Regions from separate parts of the Homo sapiens genome. Here region 1 is linked to region 2. The links are contacts of gene promoters, found by promoter capture Hi-C in human tissues and cell types (Jung and others, 2019). All regions are on one chromosome and are shown on one strand. The core of a region is centred on a gene start or on the middle of the fragment in contact, and the rest is flanking DNA. Distances in the headings are between cores, read along the strand shown.

Region 1 (4,937 bases), core at 1,839-4,338, 85 kb before region 2:
GTGGACTGGGGAGTGGCACTCAGAGGCTAAAACAAGGATTTTGGACTAGGATAACAGAAAAAATTAAGCCATTAATAGAAATAGGAAAGTTAAGTGGAAAGACTGGTTTAACTTAGGTTCTTGACATGGTGAGTTTGAAGTACTCCATCAAGGTTGATGGCCGTTGCCTTGGGAACTTGCTGCTGGAGGAAGCAACTAAATTCTACTATTAGCCTGATTTCCTTAATCATGGCCTTTCTGAGACCTGAGTCGATTTTTTTTCCTGGTCACACTGTGCAATTTAAAATTTCATGTTTCTTCCAGATTCCAAGAGAGCAGCATAGCAAGAAAAACAGGTTACAAAGAAATAACAAGACCTCTGAGCAGAGAGAGATTTGTTATGTAGATAATACAAGTAGTATCTCCTCGCCTTACTCTAGTATATCTAGTATCTCCTTGCCTCTCTCCTTTCTAAAATTGGACACCATAGCCTTCTACATCTGCTGTTGCTTCTTTTTCTCCAGTGAACCAAAGGAACAGAATATGAGAAAATTAATTCCTTAGACATCCACGCTTGCCTCTAAAAGTCGATTAGCTTTCCCAGTTGAAAGAGATGGTAAAATCAGGTACCCAAGCAAAGCAGTCCAGGTGTGAATGGTGTTAACTTCCTTGCACATGCCTTCTGCGCTCTCTTATTCATAGAGAATGACCAAGATAGCAGAGAAAAGGCCTGCCCTGTTCCTTTATATTCTGCTATCTTTCCAGCTCTGTAACTAGAAAGCCGAGCAACACAAGGCCTGCTTCTACCAAACCAATACTCAGTGGGCTGCTCTAACTTCCGGGCTAGCAGATGTAGTAGATTTCTGATTTGTGACCCTTCTTTCTGTTATCCCCATACACTACACACTGTTTTGTTTTGTTTTGTTTTGTTTTGTTTGTTTTTTTTTTGCAGAGATGGCCAGCCTGAACTGTATTTTAAATAGCATTATAGGGCTGGGTGCAGTGGCTCATGCCTGTAATCCCAGCACTTTGGGAGGCCAAGGCGGGAGGATTGCTTGAGGCCAGGAGTTCAAGACCAGCTAGGCAACATAGCAAGATCCCATCTCTACTAAAAACTTTTAAAAGTAGCCAGGTGTGGTGGTGTGTACCTGTAATCCCAGCTATTCAGGAGGCTGAGGCTAGAGAATCTCTTGAGTCCAGGAGGTCAAGGCTACAGTGAACCATGATTGTGCCACTGCACTCTAGCCTGGGCAACAGAGGGAGACCCTGTCAGACAAACAAATAAGTAATTAACTATTATAGTAAATGTCAGTGTTCTTAGGGACAAATGCTGAAGTATCTAGGGGTGAGCATCCTTATGTCTAAAACTTACTCTCAAATAATAAATGGTCATGGAGAGAAAGGGGGAAAACAGAAGTGGTAAGGTGTTAGCAACTGTTGAATCTAAGTGGAGGGAAAATGAGTGTTCATTGTATTCTTTCAACTAAAAAGTTTGCGGGGGAAGGTAGTTTTCCTTGAAGATTTAAAAAGGAAATCTTTAAAAATGGCAGTTATTCTAAAATATAGCCTGTAACATTTGGGAAGAATAACCTGATAAGTAGAGATGATTAGTCTCTAGCAATTTCTGGACTCCCTGCTGTGGAATATTAGTTTTCTGCTTTTAGAAAAAGGTGTCCCCATATCCAGCTTTCAACTCCAGATAACAGTAGTTGGAAATTGGAAACAGTTCATTTATGTCATCCAATCCTTCTTTGTTACCTGACTTATAAAAAAACGTTTGTTTCTTAAAGTAAAAGACCACATTGTACATCCATTACTTACCAACAGGGAATCTGTCTGCCTTTAGTCTACAGAGACTGGTATATAAACCTTTGGAATTAATTCCTTTGTGCATCCTCTCAATCAGAGTGCTGGCTTTTTTTTTTTTTTTTTTTTTTTTGCTTTTGTATGGAATATTGTTTTACAGTGTTCACTATAGCTGTCCGAGGAGGCCTCCAGTGTCATGAGCACAGGCACACTATCTTGTCTATTTTCACATTTTTAAAAGATAAAACAAGGTTCAAACCACACATTCTCTGTGAACTGCTAAAGATTTGGAAAAAATTACTTTCTTTTCTCTTGACCTGGATTGACAAGAAGCACACCTACAGGAGGCAAAAAGATGAGTGAATCCCTTTTAAAGACCCTAGTAATGAAGCCCTCAGGGAATTGCTGTGTATGGTAGAATTTACAGCGGCTTCTGGGGACGAACAGTGTGGCAGGAAGAGGTTCAGGACTGCTGGCTGTTGAAATATAGATTCCATTTATTTTATATCAGCCTATTTTGGGCCCCTGTGAGAAAGTTATTTTAATAATATCTTGCTCTGGCTGGCCGCAGTGACTCATGCCTGTAATCCCAACGCTTTGGGAGGCTGAGGTGGGCGGATCACCTGAGGACAGGAGTTTGAGACTACCTGGCTAACACGACAAAACCCCGTTATACTAAAAATACAAAAATTATCCAGGCATGGTGGTGGGCACCTATAATCCCAGCTACTAGGGAGGCTGAGGTAGGAGAATCGCCTGAACCTGAGAGGTGGAGGTTGCAGTGAGCCGAAATCACGCTATTCCACTCCAGCCTGGGGAACAGAGTGAGACTCCATCTCAATAATAATAATAATAATATCTTGCTCTGCTAGAAATACACATGATAAGTGGCAGGTGTCAGAACAAAAAGGGAAAAGTTGCAGTCCATTCTCCTCGAGACTTATGGAGTTTACATAGTTGTTCTCTTTCAGCCTTTGAAGTAAACCCTGATGCACATAGAAGCACAAATTAAAAAAGACATTAGACATAGGCCAGACCAATGATCCTCAAACAAATCAGAATCACAGGGGTAGGCTATGGAGAATCTGCATTTTTCGCAAGCTACCCAGGTGATTCCAATACATCCAGCCCAGCATTTGTGAGAGCCCAGCATCTGGGAACTTCTGGTCTGGTCTGGTGTTCTACAGATCAAGAAATGAAGGCCTATACAAAAATGTAAAAATTATTCAAGTTATTAACCAATGAAGGACTAGAAACCATATTTTCTGGCTCCCAACATATCCATCTTCCCAGGTCACAATGCCTCTTGAAGTGTTCACAATTAAGATCTTAGGCCTTTTGCTGTAATCAGTAGACAAGGCCTTTAATCCCTGAAATTTTGAGGTGTATGTCTTGAAATCTCTCTGGAGATCTGTTAACTTCCATTCTAAGGTCTTTTCCTTTAGACGCACTGCTTTTAAGGTTGAAGCACTTAATTACACTAATTCTTCTCTGTCCTAGCCTTTTGTTGGTTAATTTTCATGAAATCATTGAATTTGTTTTCTACAGATGGAAGCTTAGGTTCCCTTCTTTAGTGTATTTATAAATAGAAGGTGGGTGAGAAAATGAAAATATGCCATTGTTCTATATGGGTAAAAATTACATGTAAGGCATCAGCTAAGGGCTCTACATTACCTGCATACTAGCTCACAAACAAAAACATCCAGCTTTCCTAGAACTAGGAGTGAGTAAAATTCGTTTTTCCTGTACATTCCCTGAATAAGTAGTACATAACCAATACATATAAAGAAAAAGCTTCATCCATTTATTCATTCACTCAGACACTGATCTCAACTTGGGATACAGTTGTGAGCAAGAGAAAATTTCCTTGCTTTCATGGAGCTTGGGAGATTGTAGACGAAGCATATCTAAAACAGTATTGTGTAGGTAGGTGCAGTGGCCCATGCCTGTAATCCCAGCAGTTTGGGAGGCCAAGGCAGGAGGATCAGTTGCATCCAGGAGTTCGAGACCAGCCTGAGCAACATAGTGAGACCCCATCTCTATAAAAAATTAAAAATTAACCAGGCATGGTGGTACATACCTGTAGCCCCAGCTACTCAGGAGGCTGAGGCAGGAGGATCACTTGAACCTGAGAGGTTGAGGCTGCCGTGAACTGTGATTACAGCACTGCACTCAGCCTGGGTGACAGACAGAGTAAGACCCTGTTTAATCAACCAATCAAACAGTCAGTCAATCACAATACTTTGTAACCTCCTAGAATATAAATTCCAAGAGGTCACACATTTTGATCTGTTCTGTTCATGCCTGTGTCTGTAGTGCCTAAGCAGTGTCTGACTCATAGTAGGTGCTGAATGAGTATTTGTTAAATGAATGAGCAACCAAGAGGTGTAATAGAAACTATCGCTTCTCCCAAATTAACTATCTTACAAAAAGAATAAGGATAGTATTTAATGAGAAATATCATTTATGTAGGAATCTAAATCATTTATTTGTATCTAACTTGACATATTTTTATTTATTTATTTTTTGAGACAGGGTCTCATTCTGTCACCCAGGCTGGAATGCAGTGGTGCAATCACAGCTCACTGCAGCCTTGACCTCCTGGACTTAATCAATTTGCCCACCTCAGCCTCCTAAGTAGCTGGGATTACAGGTGCGCGCCACCATGCCTGGCTGATTTTTGCTGTGTTGTTGTTGTTGTTGTTGTTGTTGTTGTTGTTGTTATTGTTTGTAGAGACAGGTTTCTCACCATGTTGCCCAAGCTGATCTCAAACTCTTGTGCTCATGTGATCTGCCCGCCTTGGTCTCCCAAAGTGTTGGAATTACCGGCATGAGCCACCGTGCCTGGTCAGTATATTTTTAAAAGCTCTAAAGCTTTTTGTGAGAAAACACCATATCAGAATGTCTGTTGTCAGGTATGTTTGGCATATTTAGATATTATACCCATGTATCAGCTGGAAACATATATGTATTATATACCTATAGAAGTTTAAATATTTACCAGAGTTTTTTCCTAAAATAAATGATACTTTTATGTACAAGCTAAAGTGATCAAGAGTAAAATGATTTCATAGAGCTAGAACATTTATTGTGACAAAATGAAAAGGATATTCGGGTGAGCCACATATCAATAGTTGCATGTTCAGATTATA
Region 2 (5,126 bases), core at 2,042-4,541:
CATGTTGGGTCATGGTATATCACTTACCTGCTCCACATTCCAATAAAGATAGTTGTTGGCCGGGCGTGGTGGCTCACGTCTATAATTCTAGCACTTTGGGAGGCTGAGGCGGTCGGATCACAAGGTTAGGAGATCGAGACCATCCTGGCCAAGATGGTGAAACCCGGTCTGTACTAAAAATACAAAAATTAGCTGGGCGTGGTGGCACATGCCTGTAATTCCAGCTACTCAGGAGGCTGAGGCAGGAGAATCGCTTGAACCAGGGAGTCGGAGGTTGCAGTGAGCTGAGATCGCGCCACTGCACTCCAGCCTGGGCGACAGAGCGAGACTCCGTCTCAAAAAAAAAAAAAAAAAAAAGATAGTTGTTTATTTTTTCAGCACACAGGGGTTAACCATTGAGGCATGTCTTTCTGTAGGTCCTATTTAATATAGTACTACCTCTCACGCCCCTGTTTTTCACCCTCTTACTTTTCTGTTGTGAGTATTCACAGAATCTGGATCTGCCAGCTACTTCTGTTTGAAGTTGAAGACTTGGCGAAATTATACATCCAGCAGGCAAGAAATAAAGTGGAAATGTCTCACAAGTAACAGTGAAATCTGTTGCGTTGTTTTAAGTCTTTACTGAAAAAAAGTCCTACTAAATATTGTCTTGCCAACTATAAATATATTTTAGCAATGATAAAAGCCTTTAGAGTAACAGTTATCTGAAACCTAATGTCTGTCTGTCTGCCACTCTTAATTATATATATTTACATTTTATATCCCAATCTTCTTTTATATCCCATTTTATATAACGCAATTTTCCATTTGAGTTTTTACATTTAGTGTCTCAGTGTTTTATATGGTCAAGTAGCCAGTTTTCCCCCTGCTACATTTTACTCAGGTACAAATGAAAATGAGTTGACTAGATCGATGGCAGCAGCTCTAATTTGAAATCTTGAAAAATGCATTTTTTATTAAGCAATTTCAAATTGAGCAGACCTCTAAAAACCAGGTTGTTATTTTTCCGGGTCTTTACACACACATCCGTATGAACCATGAACTGTTACTGCACTTTCAAAACTATTATGTCTTGAAGTTTCCAAAATTATATACAACTATTCCAATACATTTTTCACCTTTATGCGTTATTTTCCTTCTCCATATAAAAAAGAAAACCACATAGAAAACCATTTGAAGGAAGGTGATTTCCTTTCTTGGATAGCAATGACTTCTATTTCTATTAATAACTTATTTGAAACAAGCCACTTACTTTGTTAAGTAGATAGATCCATTTATGCAAATATAAGATACATACTTTTACAATAATATTCAAGGTCCGTTTGAGTTTCCTGAAAGTTGTTTTGAAAAGTCAGCTATATCAGTTCAATTATTGTATTTGACAGAAATCTTTTGTTTCAAGCAATATGAACAGAGAAATGTTAATTTCTATCTCTATTGTCTTATTATTTAATTTCTCCTTAAAAACCTGAGTTGTCACTGTGAAAGATTGGTTAAATATATATCCCCTCACTACACACGTTTCATCTAGTCCTCTTTCCAAAAATTTAACAAGGTCGTTTTACATTCTTAAAGCACCACAGCAAAGTGATTTAAATGCAAAATGTGCTTAAGTGCTACTTAACTATTCCTAACTCTTCTACTGGGAAATCCTAGAAAACTGAACTAATGAAATGCAACTTCTACTTTAAAAATTCTAATTATAACTGTCACATTAAATTGAAGGTGAGAATAAAACTGGTGTATCTGTTAACTAAGTCAAGCGATGTACTGTGTCGTACGTGTTATTTAATGTGCAAGTGTAAAAGTCAAGTTCTCTGCAGAAATCGAAGTGCCTCCCCTCAGTCTTCTGCGAATGTATAAATTAACCATTCTCCCCCAAGCAGTCCTCCTCCCTTCCTCCCTCCGCCCTATTTTAAATGTAGATAGGGCGACCTAAGTCTTTTGAATTTGAAGGGCTGCTATCTCGGCCCCATTCTTTTCATCATCCTGTTTTCAATGACACTGAGCACGTATAGATTCTTCTATAAAAGCACCCCCTGGATGCAGGGCTTGGTTCTTCAGGCTGCTTGCTTAATTTTGCATAGCAATTAGTACTGACTTCACTAAACCAGTAATCCAAATACAGCTCGAGAATGTTCCACGTAGTTCCTCAAACTTAACCCTGTGCCTTTTGATTTCAAGCCCGAAGGGGGGGAACTTGCATAATTACTAAATTCCCAATTGGAGTGGTCTGAAGGAGGGTACGGTAAACCCAAACTATACGTTAATTCAAACCCTCGCCGCGACTGGGCAGCAAGGAGCCAACATATGCCTTCTTTTAAAAATCTATTCTACCTATTCACTGACCGCGCAGGGCCGTGCCACATGGTCCTCCCTTGCAGCCAGTCAGCTGTGAGCAGCAGATGGGATCATTTGCATTTTTCTTTTTATACTTTCTTTGATCGGCAAATTAAAGGATTTTTCTTAAATTTACATTCTCATTGTTTGCCTAAAATACAAACGTGGCTAAACTGTTGAATTGGGCTTCCCTGACTCTCACCCAGCACCTCCCCCTCCCCCTACCCAGCCACTGAGACTTGAGAAAATACCCGAGGGGTAGATTTCGTATTTATCAACTGGGAATCTACAGTCCAAGAGTTAGGAGTAGACAGAATCAGCCTTTATTGAGTTGGTGACTCGTGTTTTTCTATTTTAGGCGCTCGGCGCAGACAGCCCGTGGGTTTGTGTTTGTGGGGTGTGTGTCTGTGAGCGCGGGCGCTTCCGAAGCTCTCGCTCCGCAGCCTCACACCCCAGAACTTCGGGTTGCAAGAGCAGATTTTAGCTCTGAGGCTCACAACAGAGGGCGGCCACCGTGCAGGGGGAGTGGCCAGAGCCAGCTTTTCCCAGCGCCAGGGTCGCTCTCCCGGGTCCCGCCGGACTCCATGCCGCCCCGCGGGGCCGCAGGAGCCACCCGGGCCCTCGCGCCCCAAGGTCTTTGTGCCGGTGGCGGCGCGGGAAGACCGGCCCCGGGGGCCTGGGCTGCGGCCCAAAGGCCAAAAATGCGGGAGAGGCGTGGGCGCGAGGCGGGACAAGCTCCGCACAGTCGCCGTCCCGCAAGGGGCAAAAAAGTAGAAAAAGCCGTTTGGGGCCAAACTCTCGGGTCTGAGAAACCACGTTTCCGAGGACGAACTCGCGGTGGGAGGACACATGGGGTACAGGGGACATTGTTCGCGGCGCCTGCCCGGCGCGCCGTGGGTGCGCGGCCGCCGCCCCCGCCCCGGGCAGCCAGCGCGGGCCCACGTGGAGCCACTGCGCTGGCCGAGCGCGCCGGGCCGCCTGGGTCCCGGGAGTGCGCGCCCGAGCTCCCCGCCGCGGCCGTTCACGCCCGAGCGCCGCCGCCGCCGGTCCCGCGTGTGCCCCGCTGAGGGGGAGGGGCGGGCCGGGGGTGGGGGCGGAGGGGTTGTGGTTCCACTGCAGCGGGGGCTCCTGTGTCCTTGTGCGGAAATGACACACGGAGTCCCGTCACGTCACGCGAGAGCGCAGCGCACGGACACACACAAAGAGAGGGGAAAATACACGGCGCTCGCCCGCCCGCCGCCCCCAGCGCCTCCCCGGGCCGCCCTGGCCAGGCCCTCCGCGCGCGGCCCCCACTCCCCGGCCCCGCGCCCTCCCCCCCACGTGGCGCCCAAACTCGGCGCGGGCCCGCCCGGCAAAGTACAGAACTCGCGTCCCAGGTAAGTGCGGGGCGGATCAAGCCGGCCGCGCGGCGGCGGCAGCGTTGGCGGCTCCGGGGCGAGCGGCCGGTAGAGTGGCTGCAACATCCATGCCGGGGTGGGGGCGGGAGCAGGGGAGGGGACGCGGAGGGGGGCTGCTCCGAGCGCGCCCGCCGGTAGTAGCGCCCACCCCCGCGCGGGCCGAGCGACCGGAGCGGGCGCCGGGCGCCCACGGGCTCGCCGCGCCCATTGTGCTGCGCGCCCCTTTGTGCCCGCTCGGAACGCGGCGGCTCCATGGCGTTCTGGGGAGCACGCGCGCCGCGCGGGGGCGGGGGGTTCGCGCGGTGGAACCGTCCGCGCCGCCGCCGCCGCCCGCCCCACTCGCGCCGCGCGCCGGCCCCGCACCCCCGCCGGGCGCCGCGATGGAGCGGCCGGGGCGGCCGGAAGGCTCTGCCGTACTCGCGGCGGCTTGGCGCTCGCGCTCGGCGGGGCTTTGGCGGGGCACTGCTCGGCGTGTGGAAGGGGGTGTCGGAGCGGGAGCAGGGGGCGGGGACTGGAGGGAGATGCCGGGCGGCGAGCGGGAGGCCGGGGGAGCAGCCGCTCGGAGGAACGAAGCCTCCGGAGGCTGCAAATGGAGCGAGGCCGGCCCGCGGCGGCGGCGGCCGGGAGCGGAGAGGGATGGGCCCCGCCGCCAGGGGGCGCAGCGCTCCCTTCCCGGCCGTTCCACGGCGGTTCGCGGTTCCCGCTGCCCAGGAGCTGGAGGCGGGCCCGGCGCCTTGGGTGTGCACCCGGGCTGGCGCGAGGCCTGGCCGGCCGGCCGCAAAGCTGAAGCCTGGGGCGCTCGCCGCTCCTCGTGAGCGCTCCTTTCCTTCTCTATGATAAACGTGATTTCCCACGCATGCTTTGCCCTTGCCTCATCCGTGAGCTGTGCACCACCGATTTGGAGGCCCTTGTGTGCTTGTTTACCTACGTCTCCCTATGTAGCTATTTTAAACAAGGTGTTTTTACAGAGATAAAAGTTTTATTGATTGCTCAGGTGGTCTTTCTGGAAGAATTCTGCACGTAAACGCTAACTCGACAAGAGTGCCGGGAGGAACAAGGTTACTCACTAGAGTTGGAAATGTGCAGTTCATCTCCTTAAAGTAACTTTTGAATGGTTGAATACAAATAGTAAACATGCCACAGGGCAGCGTGGCATAGTGCCAGAAAGCTACGGTTGCAGGAAACTGAGGTAAGGAACTGAGTCCTTCAGGTAGCCAGGTATATAAACGGCTGGGATGGAGGACTTTCTCTTGTTACCCGCTCCCCACTTCCACCCTTGCAGTCCGTTTTTCTCTCTTTTTTTTTTAAACCATTCATCCCTAGATATTGGCTTTATACTACCATACAAGAGCCTGTCAAGCTTTCCTCGGTACTGGGACTTGGGCAAGA

Evidence for each region. The method cuts DNA at HindIII sites, captures the fragments that hold promoters and counts their contacts. A contact is called where the count stands out against the background at its distance.
Region 1: a contact is called between a fragment that was not itself captured here and the fragment with the promoter of BEND3 in region 2, in 2 of the 25 tissues and cell types used here (aorta and pancreas).

The regions. Positions count from the first base shown.
Region 1 is chr6:107,198,372-107,203,308 of GRCh38, reverse strand. All of the region lies in intron 6 of PDSS2 (decaprenyl diphosphate synthase subunit 2), which reads left to right. Among named protein-coding and RNA genes, the nearest start is that of BEND3, 85 kb to the right of the region's middle. The HindIII fragment of the contact is 4,918 bases long and covers 630-4,937 here.
Region 2 is chr6:107,113,680-107,118,805 of GRCh38, reverse strand. It overlaps BEND3 (BEN domain containing 3), which reads left to right and starts at 3,291. Exons shown (of 4, transcript NM_001367314.1): 1 at 3,291-3,716. RefSeq lists enhancers at 1,276-2,041, 2,042-2,805 and silencers at 3,398-3,447, 3,488-3,537, 3,668-4,577. The HindIII fragment of the contact is 9,723 bases long and covers 1-5,126 here.